Regions from separate parts of the Homo sapiens genome. Here region 1 is linked to region 2. The links are contacts of gene promoters, found by promoter capture Hi-C in blood cells and fetal thymus (Javierre and others, 2016). All regions are on one chromosome and are shown on one strand. Each heading gives the region's core, a stretch centred on a gene start or on the middle of the fragment in contact. The rest is flanking DNA. Distances are from core to core; before and after follow the strand shown. Region 1 overlaps AAR2 (AAR2 splicing factor). Region 2 holds the start of MTCL2 (microtubule crosslinking factor 2).

Region 1 (5,946 bases), core at 872-3,371, 620 kb before region 2:
AAAAATGAATAGAAATCCTGTCTTTCTACCTCTTAAACATTTCAATTCTTCAAAATATATCTTGCGAAAAGGTCTGTTACAGGAATAACTTTGTTGGTTTTTTTTTTTTTTTTTTTTTGAGACAAGGTCTCACTCTGTGACATGGGCTGGAGTACAGTGGCATGATCACAACTCACTGCAGCCTCAACCTCCTGGGCTCAACTGAGCCTCCCACCTCAGCCTCCCAAGTAGGTGGGACTTCAGGTGTGTGCCACCACGCCCAGCTAATTATTTTTGGTTGAGATAGGGTCTCCCTGTGTTGCCCAAGCTTGTCTCAAACTCCTGAACTCAAGCAATCCTCCTCCACTGACCTCTCAAAGGGCTAGGACTATCCCTGCCACCGCACCTGTCCAGGGATAATTTTGAATCTACATCACACCTCTTTGAAAAATATAATTTAATTTTAGATAAAGTCAGAAATGCACAAATTTAATAAATGTCCTAAACGCAAATAATAGGCTAATATTTAGTTTCACAAACCAAGTAAAGCCAGCTGAAGAAGCAAATCATTAACCTATATTATACAAAGAAAATTTGACTATATTTGAAAATATTGGTCAGAAATCCAAAATTTCTAAACCAGGTAGCTATTCACACAAATCAAACTTAGTTCCGTATGCTTAGGAACAGGGAGCTAGTTTTTCCAGGTCTCTGGAGGTGGCACAGATCAAACGCCATGCATTTAAAGAGGTATTTGGTGTTGAGTACATCTCTTCTTTTTATGGCCCACATGTATGTATACCTCATTAAATTTCCAGCCACCTTTGAAGTAGAGAGAATGCCTGTGATGAGGAGCAGTATTCTGTGGTAACCAGAGACCCAGTTACTTGCCCAGGGACAGTGGTGTCTGGATCATCAGGTCTCTGTTTGAGATGGGCATCTGATAGAAATTGGGAACATAATATTTTTTGAGTGCTACTTTGTGCCAGGTCTTATTCTAAATGCTATACATGTACTATATCCATTCATGTAATCTTTGCTACAACCCTCAAATAAGGAAATTGAGGCCTTAATAGATTGAGTAACTTGCCCAAGGTCACACAGCTGCTAAGTGGCAGAGCTAAGATTTGAAGCTAGGCAGTTTGGCTCCAGAGCCCATGCTCTTAGCCACCAAGCTGCTCATAGAGATTAAATCACAGAGCCCTGTGGTTAAGCAAACAAAAATAATCTGCCTGGCAGGCTGACCCTGGAATAAGTACTCATGAATTTTTCTTTTGTGGGAGGTTCCAGAACTGTTCCCACCCAATGGAGAATCTGTTTTATCTTTCCGTTGCCCACATTGTGAAGCATTAGATGTGTGGCCTTGGGCAAGCCCTTGACCTTATCTATGAAATGAGGCAAATACCATCTTCCTGATCGCCTTGTGGAGTTGGGCTGAGGGTTACATGGTATAGTGCAGTATTTCCTGACCCTGGAGCAGACCATCCACATTAGAATCACCTGGGGAGCTTGTTAGAGCTACAGATACGAAGGCCCCATCATCTCTCCTCCACCAGAACCTCTGAGGGTGAAGCTTGGGTAGCTTTACTTTTAACAGACTCTCAGTGATTCTGATGGGCAGCCAGGTTTGAAATCCACTTGGCATAATATCCATGAACACATTTTGTAAACTTAAAATGCCAGGCAAATACTGGGAATACCTCTTCTCTAGCAGTCTGATTTTATAGAAATCCAAAGCCACAGGTTGGTTTCCCATGGCTTGAATTCATAGCGGTTCAGCAGACATCTATTGAGTACCTGTTAGGTGCAAAATCTCCTGCCAGGCTCTGCAGGAGTGACAAGGATAAAAGCTCATCTGTTGCTGAGGTCCAGTGGAATTCATGGCCTTGTGAATAGTGATGGAGAGTGTCAGCTGGTCCTCCTCTCCCTCAGAATCACTTCTCCTCTCTGCACCTTTCAGGTGAACTCCAGTTTGCTTTTGTGTGCTTCCTGCTGGGGAATGTGTACGAGGCATTTGAGCATTGGAAGCGGCTCCTGAACCTCCTGTGCCGGTCAGAAGCAGCCATGATGAAGCACCACACCCTCTACATCAACCTCATCTCCATCCTGTACCACCAGCTTGGTGAGATCCCCGCTGACTTCTTCGTAGACATTGTCTCCCAAGACAACTTCCTCACCAGCACCTTACAGGTGAGCAGTCTTTCTGACTGAGCTGATGCACATGTGGGTCAGAATTGAGGCAACAGTATGTGTTTTGTTTCTCGCTATTCTTCCATGACCCCAAAATTTTTAAATTTCAGTTTCCTAGTCTTGGGATATTTCCTGCTTTTCTCTCTCTTACTCAATTGTAAGTGCCTCTATGCCAGAAATTTTCTCTCTGTACCACCCTCTCCCTACACCTCGTCCCCAGAGTGCCTAACACTGGGGTACTTGGATTTGAATTCCTCCCACTGCTTTGGTTTACTCAGCTTAAAACAGCGTTTCTTTCTCCCTGTAGCCATGAATTGCTACAACCCAGTAAAGCAGAATTTTGAAGTTTGTTATTCCCAGTGAAACATCTGCAGCTCCTTAGATCTCATTTAAGCATTAAAATAACTTTGATTTCCTGTTCAAACAAAATGTGCCAGTTTCTGCAGAGATTCTATGACAGAAAAAGTGAAATTTGCTTTTAACTTGGCAATTAAATTTTCATTATGAGTGGTAATTAGGAAAGAAGCTTCAAACAACTTACAATCTTCATCCTATGCTATTTCCTCCCTTTGCAAACAGATTAGTCCTTTATGTACTTGGGACAGCCTCTGTCACTCACATTGTGTAACTTTCTCAAGAATAGAAGAGGCAGAAGCTGCCACTGTCAGTTTCCATACTTTCCCTCCCATGAGCTTCTTTCTTCTCCCTGTGTGTAATACCCCCATGAGGCCTGCTCCATATAAGGCAGCCTTTCACCAACCTTCCAATCCCACTCGGGGTAACAGAAGGGACGAGCATTCGTTAAATATTGGGGCTGGGCGTGGTGGTTCATGACTGTAATCCCAACACTTTGGGAGGTGAAGGCAGGAGGATCACTTGAGCCCAGGAATTAAAGACCAGCTTGGGCAATATAGTGAGACCCCGTCTCTCCAAAAATTAAAAAATTGGCCAGGTATGGTCATGTGCACCTGTAGTCCTAGCCACTTGGGAGGCTGAGACAGGAGGATCACTTAGCCCAGGAGTTTGAGGCTATAGTGAGCAATGATTATGATCGTGCCACTGCACTCCAGCCTGGGCAACAGAGTGAGACCCTGTTCACTCATTGAATCCCTTTGGAGCCTTGTAAGATGGGGGTATTATTCCCATTTTACAAATGGGAACACTTGAGAATGGTTAAATCACTTACTTGAAGTCATACAGCTGGCAGGTGGAGGTCAGGATTTGTACCCAGGCCTGAGTCTTGGTTTCCTGCCTGTGCTTATGCCCTTGTGTAGTGAACACAGTGTGAATCCCCCAGAAAGGATTCTTGATTGACATCAGTGAAGACTTCATCGAGGTCCTGTTTCTCAGAGGTACAGAACGCTTTTCTAAAGCCAACCTACTGTTGGATGAGTCCCTGTGAGCAGGCATCTGACTTAAAGCTGGCAGTTGAAGGACCTGTGTAAACCATGGCAATGAGTCAGTCAAGCGCATGATTTGAGCCTGGTCTGTTCCACTCAGAAGAGCTATAAAACTGTCCTTTTACTGGTTCTTCATATAACAGAGAAATTAAACCCCTTTGTCCTTCCTCTGTGGGGAAAATTTTCCCCAAAGGTACTGGTTATGGGTTGTGAGGCAGTGTGAGGAGGCATTAGCCTGCTAACTTGCCTCTGGCAGTGGCTGCTTCCCTCCTGATGCACGTTGATGCGTCGCACAGACACAGGAGGGCCACGGTGTTGCTGGCTGTCCAGACCATTGTTAGCACAACCAGCAGCTGAGCTCTATAATTGCCAGGCTTTGTTGCCAGCAATGATTTACAAAGCAGAAAGTGCCCAGCTGGATTGCTAGATGCCCAGGTGGGTTGTGCAAAGCTGATGGTTGGAAACATTCAGTCTTTGAACTTTTCACCAAGAAAATTCGATGTCATTATTTGGAAAAATCCAGGGCATGTGCCAAAACAAAACAAAACAAAACAAAAAACACATGTCTTTGAGCATTCTTCATATATAACATTCTACTGAAAGTGTTGAGGAATATATATACATGTGAGTTAGCCAGGGTTCCTGCCCTCAAGGGATTTGTTCATTGATTTAGCAGGTAATTGCTGAGCATCTGCTGTATAGAAGACTCTGTTCTAGAACTGGGAATATAGCTGTGAGCAAGACAGAGTCATTGTCTTGACTCTTGTAATTTGAGAAAGTTAACAGAAAGTTAACTAGCCAAGTAACTCCAGATAGCAGACTCTTGTATTTTGAGAAAGTTAACAGAAAGTTAACTAACCAAATAGCAGTAAGCAGGTAGCAGTAAGTGTTTTAGAAGGCAGTCCTGCCCTAGTACCATTTCCCTAGCCCCGGCCTTTTGGTCTCACCTAGACTGCATCGGAGTTTACCAGCCTCCGTGCTTACCAGTTACCCCATCTCTCTCCCACACTGCCACCTGAGGTGCTGCTCCATAATGCAGCTGTGATCCTGCTTCTCTGTGGCTCCTCATTGCGTGGAAAATTAAAAGCCTAAACATTGGTCGCAAAGGCCATTCTGATCTGGCTTCTTATCCTGTTCTCCAGCTTCTCTTTCCTCTCCGTTTTCCCCCATCAACTCCAGCAACAGTGGTCTCTTTGCAGGTTCCTGGACAGGTTATGCTGTTTCATGCTTTTTAAAAAAAAAAATTGTTGTAAAAAACAGCTGGTCCATGGTGGCTCACGCCTGTGATCTCAGCACTTTGGGAGGCCGAGGCTGGAGGATCACTTGAGGTCAGGAGTTAGAGACCAGCCTGGCCAACATGGTGAAACCCCCATGTCTACTAAAAATACAAAAATTAGCCAGGCATGGTGGTGGGCGCCTCTAGTCCCAGCTACTCAGGAGGCTGAGGCAGGAGAATCTCTTGAACTGGGGAAGCAGAGGTTGCAGTGATTCGAGATTGCACCACTACACTCCAGCCTGGGCAAAAACAGTGAGACTTTGTCTCAAAAAAAAATAATAAAAATAAAATTGTGGTAAAAAAAAACACAATTTAACATATATGCCCTCTTAACAGATTTTCAGTGTTCAGTACAGTATTAACCATAAGCATCATGCCATCCAGCAGATCTCTAGAACTTCTTCATCCTGCATAATTGAAACTTTATACCCATGTTTCATACCTTCTTGCCGGAACCTGATTTTCCCTCTCCCTGGTACATATTTGCTCATTCTACAACATGCCCTCAAGGCATCCCTCTCTGTCAAGCCATCCCTCCTCTCTCTGTCTCAATCTCTGTCTCTCTTTCACTCTCCCCTTTCCCTACTCTTAGCTTACTTTGAACTTGTCGCTATTATATTGCATGAGATGTGCTTGCTGAAACTAATATATTGTCTGCCTGACTCCCGCACTGAGTCATGGGCTCCTTTTACACGAGGCCTATTTTTTGTTCATCTGGTTATCTTCTTCTTCTTCTTTTTTTTTTTTTTTTGAGACATAGTCTTGGTCTGTAACCCAGGCTGGAGTACAATGGCGCGATCTCGGCTCACTGCAACCTCTGCCTCCCGGGTTCAAGTGATTCTCTGGCCTCAGCCTCCCAAGTAGCTGGGATTACAGGTGTGCACCACCACGCCAACCTAATTTTTTTGTATTTTTAGTAGAGATGAGGTTTCGCCATGTTGGCCAGGCTGGTCTCGAACTCCTGACTTCAGGTGATCCACCCAACTCACATCTGGTTATCATCAATATGTTGTCAAGGCCTAACATTTATGTCATTTGGTGTTATTGGGTGTTTTTAGATGGATAGAGTTCATAATTCTTGTGACAATGTAAATATCATAG
Region 2 (6,510 bases), core at 2,700-5,199:
TCCTTCTATCTTCTCACTGGGAGAGAGTTGCCCGATTTATGCTTTCCTCACTTGGACCCCAGAGCAGACCATACCAGACTGGAGATCACAGTCCTTCGCAGTTGACAGTTCCCAGTGACCCCTACAAGGGGGAGGTAAGCCTGAGCAGGGCCACCCACCAGACCTGGTGGGACCTCCTTCAACTCTGCTCCTGCAGGGGACATACTGGGGATTTGGAGTCCTTTCCCTTGTACTCAGTTTCTGCATCTTAGAGGCAAAGTAGTCCAGAAAGGCAGAAAACACATCAAGAGTCTAACACATGCTTACTCCAAGCCCTGGCAGCCTAGCGACCCTGCTCTGGGACCCACTCTGGCCACAGTTTTCCCATCTGTGGAATAAACAACACAACACCTCCAGTAATAACCCCTCTATTTATGGTCCACATTTAGTCTCTGGATTTTGACCCTGCCTCTGTGAGGCTGGCGGCTGGGATAAACAGATATACAGAGAAGTTAAGGGACTAACCCAAATGTACACAGTGAGAAGTGGCATGGGCTGGCCTTGCTCTCCTCTCTTACCCACACTCCTTCCCCTCTCTGGCCTTAGCGCTGTTCTTGAACTCAACGAGCATTCCAATTTCCCTTAGCCTGAAATCTTCTTACTCCAGACCCTCACTCAGTTGGCTCCACGGCATCCTGCAGCCCTCAGCCTCCCTGTGCACCCCAGCCCCCACCTTCGTGTGCTCCTGGCAAACTGTCCCCTTTACCCTCATTATGATCTGTGTTGTGATTTCTTGTATGACTATTGTTTAATTCTGGTCTCCCCAAAAGCTCTATGAAAACAGACACCTCATCCTCCCTTGTCCACAGCTGTATCCCAGATCTGCCCTAGCACACGGCAGGTTCTAAATAAACAGCTGCCGAATGAACCAATGAGGGGCCAGGAGAAAGAGCCCAGCCTGCCTTGGGTGATGAAGAGGATCTATTCTGCCCTCACAGAATCCACAAGAGAACAGGCTGGGTGCACATGGAAACATGTCCCGTGCCTCTGACAAGAGCAGTGATCAGAGGTTTACTACATACCAGGTGCTCTAATGGTGTTTGCAGGAATCAGCTCATTTAACCGTTGAGGTTGGAAAGCGTGTTACTGTCCCATTTTTACAAATGAGAAAGCAAAGGTCCAGGGCCTTTAAGTAACTTGCCAAAGATCACGCCGTCAGGAAGCGACAGACCCCAGATCCAATAGCAGCACGAAGCCTGAGCCACTGAATGAATGGTGGAAATTACGGTTCCATCTTGGCCCAAACGTGGGATGTCCCCAGCTGGACCCCGGCCCCTGTGAGATCCCGGGCTCAACCCCCAGCCTCCTGGGACTGTTTTCCCCTTTAAACAGTCATGGGTGCCTCAAACAGACTTTGGGTCAGAGCCTGATGACTTCCTGGGATGGACAGGGGCCCATGGAGATGGGTGCCTAGGAGCCCTGAAGCAAAGCTCTGCAACCCATCCCCCTTCACCAGAGTGAGTAGCAGGAACCGGGAGGCAGGGGTGAGGAACTCAGAGTTTCGGTTAAGGCCAATTCAGGCAGCACTCACTGGAAGCAGCTCAGAGCACCAAGAGGGCAGGAGCAAAAGACCCTTGTCCTGGCTCGTCACCTCCCTCCTCCTCCTCACCTTCCACTTGCCCTCTCCTTACCACCGGCTTCTGAAGACTCAAAGAGCCGACTGAACTCCCAGTTGCCAACACCGAACCCGGCCCTTGGGAAGACATCCTCCCATTTAACGGATGAGGAGACTGAGGCCTGGCTTGGGGAAAGGTGTCTCTTGATTCAGACAGACCTTGTCCTTCCATACTACAAGCATTTACAGAACTCAGGCTGGAGAGCAGATCCCGGGGAAAATGGGGAGACAGAGACATAGTTGAGCAAGACACCAACACTCTAATGAGGGAGAAGCCCATTTGGTCAGAAGAGCCACAAGGAAAAGTTAAAACCTAAGTGCTGAGGGCAGACATAAACCAGCAGCATGCTGTGAGCTCCACAGCCAGGGGCACTCTGGGTGTTGTGCCAGGCCATCATCCACTGACAAGAGTCGGCAACATTTCAGCCTCCTCCAAAACCGTGCCCAGCCAGCGGCAGGAGAGCTCAGGAAGCTTCCAGCCTCCCAGGGAGAGGTCAACACGTGCAAGCTGGGCTGTCCCTAAAGCTGCCATGGCACCTGGAAGCGTGCAGATGGAGCCCGGCTGGCACCCAGTAGGTGCTCATGTCCACTGAAAAAGCAAAGGCAAAGCCTGCTGTCCGGGGGAAGCCCTAGGGTCCCCACATGGCCACAGGGAAGTCCTGTTCCAGGTGGGCAGTTGCCCTCCTCTCACTGCGAACATGGAAAGGCACTGGCCACGAGGGGCCAATGGGGCTGTTGTGTGCACAAGGTCTGCCCCAGGGAGGGCAAAAGACACTGTCCTGGGATTTAGGAAGCTGCCTCTGAACCGGTTCTCCCACGACATCATCCTCCAGGCTGTGGGACCGTTAGGCTGGGCGGAAGTGGACTCCAGCCAAGGGGATGTTCCCAGATGTCATGCTTTCAAACTGGACCCGCCCAGAAAGGCAGGCAGAGACAGGCCTGCGCCCGGGAAAGCCCTGGGTAACGACTCAGGATGGCATTCAGGCCTTTCCTGGGCAGGGGATGGCCACAGGTTTCCCTGGCGGCGGTGTCTATCAATCCCGTCCCAAGAAGGAGAGCCTGGGCGTGGAGGTTCTGGGCAGCTGAAGGCAGAGATCCATCCCTTCCCTGGCTACCCACCCCCACCTCAGCAACGCCTCCCAGAACGCTCCAAAGCTTTCTCAAGTCCCCGCTCCCAGGTTAGGGCCCTGTAGCCAGTTCCAAGGTCTTTTTCAGGAGCGCGCTTCCCAAATAAAGTTGAGAGGGGGCGGGGGGAATGAGGGAGCCCCAGATCCACCTCAGAGTGGTCCCCAGAGGGCTTGGGCCCCTTTCTCCGGATTGTTCAGTGGGAAGGAGGGCCGGCTGGTGCCTCAGGCCCGCGGGACTGTGACAGCCGGCGACCCCTGCGACCTCCCTTTCTACCCGGGCGCCCCCACCTTGAGATAGTCGTTCTCCGAGCGCAGCTCCTCCAGCTCCCGCACCAAGCCGCTGGGCCCGCAGTCCAGCATCTCCTCGGTGAGGTCGGAGAAGGCAAGCGAGGCGCTGAGCGGCAAGCGGCTGCTGCCCACCGACGACGCGGCCACCGACGGCTCGTCCGGGGAGGCGGGCGGCCGCGGGGGCTGCTGCGCGGAGGGCGCGGGCTGGGCCGGCTGCCCCGTACGGACCCCCGCCGGGCCCCCGGCCGCGGACTCGGCGTCGCTGCTCAGCGCCAGCTCCAGGCCCAGCAGGCGCGCCTCCTCCGACGCGCAGTCCGACACCTCCGAGCTGCTATCCGTGAGGCTGGGGGGCGGCGGTGGCGGTCGCGGCCCCGCACCCGAGCGCGGACGGCCCTTGGCACGGACCCCGGTGCGGACCCCGGCCACCCGCACACCCGCACCGCGCGCCCCGGGAGCCACTGCGCGCCCCTTCTTGTCCGGCCGTGAGGAGAACGCGGCGCTGCAGGCGACTGCTGAGCCCGGGCCTGGGCCGCGGCGGCCCTTAGCCAGCGACCAGCCGGCCACGTCTTTGGGCCGGGCCGGCGACGGCGCGCGGTGGCTCTTTTTCCTCTCCGGGGCAGGCGCGGGTGCAGGCGCGGGCTGGGGACCGCAGCCCCGGACCGGGGGCTCGGCCGCCGGCGCCTCCATCGCGGCCTCCCTCGGCCTCAGCGAGCTGCGCGCATGGCCCAGGCCCGCCCGGCCTCGACGTCCCTGGGGAGGGACCCGGCGCGGCTCCGGCCGCTGGGGCTGCGGCTGCTCTCGGCCCACCTCGGCCCCGACACCGCGTCCCCGTCCCAAGCCCCGCCGCGCGGTCTCTCCGCTGCTCTGGGCTCGGAGAGTGCGGCCCGACCGCCTCCAGGCGCCCCGGCTCCGGCTGCGGCTCCGCCCGGCGCCCGCCCCCTCGGCCTCGCCGCGCCCCCGGAGCGCGCCCGGGCCCCCGCCGCCCGCACGCCGATCGCTCCCTCGGGCTCCGAGTCCGGCTGCGGCCCGGGCCCCGGCTCCGCCCGGCGCAGCCCGCCCCCCGCGCAGCCCCGCCAGCTCCCCGCCCCGCCGCCTCGGCTCGGGGGCGCGCGGTTCCGCGAACAAAAGGCGGACGCGGCGGGAGCGGCAGGGAGGGACGCAGGCAGGGAGCGAGGGAGGGATCTGCGAGGCAACAGCGACCCCTTCGAGGGTCAGGCTGGCGCGGGCAGCCGCGGCCCGGGCTCCCTCCTCCTCCGCTCCGCCGCCTCCTCCCCTGCCCGCTCGGGGAAGGCACCCGGCGGAGGCGCCCCTGCGCCCGGCGTCCGGGCAGGGCCTGCGAGAGCGGCGGGAGCCGGGACTCCCGGGCCGAGGCCGGGCGGACCTCAGTTCGCAGGAACCCGCATCCATGCACGCCCAGCGCCTCGCCCCTCGCCCCGTGCCGAGCGTGCGCGAACTCCGCCCCCTTAGCCGGCATCGCCGGAGCCGCGATCCCATCGCACAGATGCGTAAACTGAAGCCTGGGGTGCACGCGCCAAGCTCACGGTCTAGGCGGCGCCGATGGGACCCAAAGCTCACACCTCCCGGGCGCGCTCGGGCTCCCCCTGCCTCGGCTTCCCTCTCCTGGCATAGGGACCGTGAAGCCCTGTGTGCATGCCTGGCTCGCGCACCTTGACCGGCGGATATTTCTCCCCATGCGCCCCCGACCCGGGTTTCAGGCTCTGTACGGCTAAAATGGAAGCGACCCGTAGCTAGGCGCGGTGGCTCATGCCTGTAATCCCAGCACTTTGGGAGGCCGAGGCGGGTGGATCACGAGGTCAGGAGTTCGAGACCAGCCTGACCAACATGATGAAACCCCGTCTCTACTAAAAATACACAAATTAGCCGGGCGTGGTAGCGCGTGCCTGTAATCCCAGCTACTCGGGAGGCTGAGGCAGGAGAATCGCTTGAACCCGGGAGGCGGAGGTTGCAGTGAGCCGAGGTCGCGCCACTGCACTCCAGTCTGGGTGGCAGAGCTAGACTCCATCTCAAAAAAATAAACAAATAAATAAAAACAAAAATAAAATGGAGGGGACCTATTACGAGATGTCAGCCTAGCGGATGCTTTGGAAGGCGGTTTTGGCCCCCGTGGGGGCTGGCATGGGCTGGGACGGTTGCCCTGACCCCACACGTCCCCACCAGGAGCAGTGCAGGAGGACTTGAGCTCTGATGGGCGTGTTTTCTTTCCTCCCGGGCGTCTGGGCGTCTCCTTGGCTCCTGGCCGTGTTGATTTTCCCATGTCTCTCACACCTTCCCCAGCCCCCACACCGCCTGGCCGCTACGCCCCCATCCCTGAGCCACCGCAGGGCAGAGCTGGATTGAGTGCTTTGCCCCACAGATGTACCCTCGTCCTTAGGGTGCCCCACACCCCTTGCCACCAGAAGGGCAGGGCTGTTTTTGCCCCTTTACAACCTCTTTCTCCTCCTGTTCTCTCCTCCCCCTCCCATTTATCCCCTGCTCTTTCTTCCTCCTTCTTCTCCCATCTTTCCCCTTCCTTTCCCCCCTCCTTTTCCAAGTCTTCCTTTTCCTCCTCTTTCCCCTCTTCTTCCTCCTGCCCATTTTCTCCTTCTTCTTCCTCCCCCAATTCCCTTCCTTCACCTCTGCACCTGCCTGTGACACAGCAGGCACCAGGTCCACTTCTTTGTCTCTGTCCCACCTCCCCCACACGCTGTGAATACACTCCTGGGGCATCCCCTCTCTCCAGAGGCATGACTTCATCTGGATCCAGGTGAGTGAGTGCTCCTCCACCCCAACGCTAGGTGCCCTCCATACGGCCAAGTGAGGAGCAGGCACTCAGCAGGCTCTTGGCAAACACTTCCGCAGGGGCATCCCCACCCCCTCCTAGCAAGACACCAGCTCCCCTCACGGCCCACTGACTGTCCACAAACCCTGTTTGCACAGGCGCCAGGTACACTGAGGGACGCAGTGGTGGGCATGTCAGTGCCTGAACTCATGGAGCACACAGTGTGTGTTGGGGGGGACCACAAAAGACTCAGCACAAACAGGGTGGCATGGCATGTGGGCAGGAGTGCTGGAGAAGGATGTGGGAGCCGCAGGCTAGTGACCCAGGGCAGGCCTTCCCACATTCCGGGCCTCAGAGTCCCCACCTGCTCTGGTCTAATGTAACAGATGACAGGGTCCATCCAGCTCAGATGCCCCTGGCTCTAGTAGGCTGCATCTAGTCTGGCACAGAAAGATGCTGTGAAGCTCTTGGAAAGTGTGTCCTCTCTCTGTGCTTCAGTTTCTGCCCCTGTGCAGAACATAGGTTTGGAGGTGTTGGGTGGTGTGAATGCAGGGACATAGCAGACCAGGCTGGCTCAGCCACTCCTGACACACCCTTGGTCACATCAGTGGTCCTGAGATTAGAGTGGCCTGCATCTCTCTTCTAGGGCAGGGATCTGAGTC

Evidence for each region. The method cuts DNA at HindIII sites, captures the fragments that hold promoters and counts their contacts. A CHiCAGO score of 5 or more calls a contact.
Region 1: a fragment that was not itself captured here is called in contact with the fragment with the promoter of MTCL2 in region 2 in 1 of 17 cell types (naive B cells); the score reaches 6.5 in naive B cells.

What each region holds. Positions count from the first base shown.
Region 1 is chr20:36,242,758-36,248,703 of GRCh38, forward strand. AAR2 (AAR2 splicing factor) reads left to right here. Exons shown (of 4, transcript NM_001271874.2): 3 at 1,940-2,169. Among named protein-coding and RNA genes, the nearest start is that of AAR2, 9.3 kb to the left of the region's middle. The HindIII fragment of the contact is 1,143 bases long and covers 1,551-2,693 here.
Region 2 is chr20:36,859,589-36,866,098 of GRCh38, forward strand. It overlaps MTCL2 (microtubule crosslinking factor 2), which reads right to left and starts at 3,950. Exons shown (of 15, transcript NM_080627.4): 1 at 3,070-3,950. The coding sequence starts at 3,756. RefSeq lists silencers at 3,550-3,699, 3,770-4,659. The HindIII fragment of the contact is 4,947 bases long and covers 2,808-6,510 here.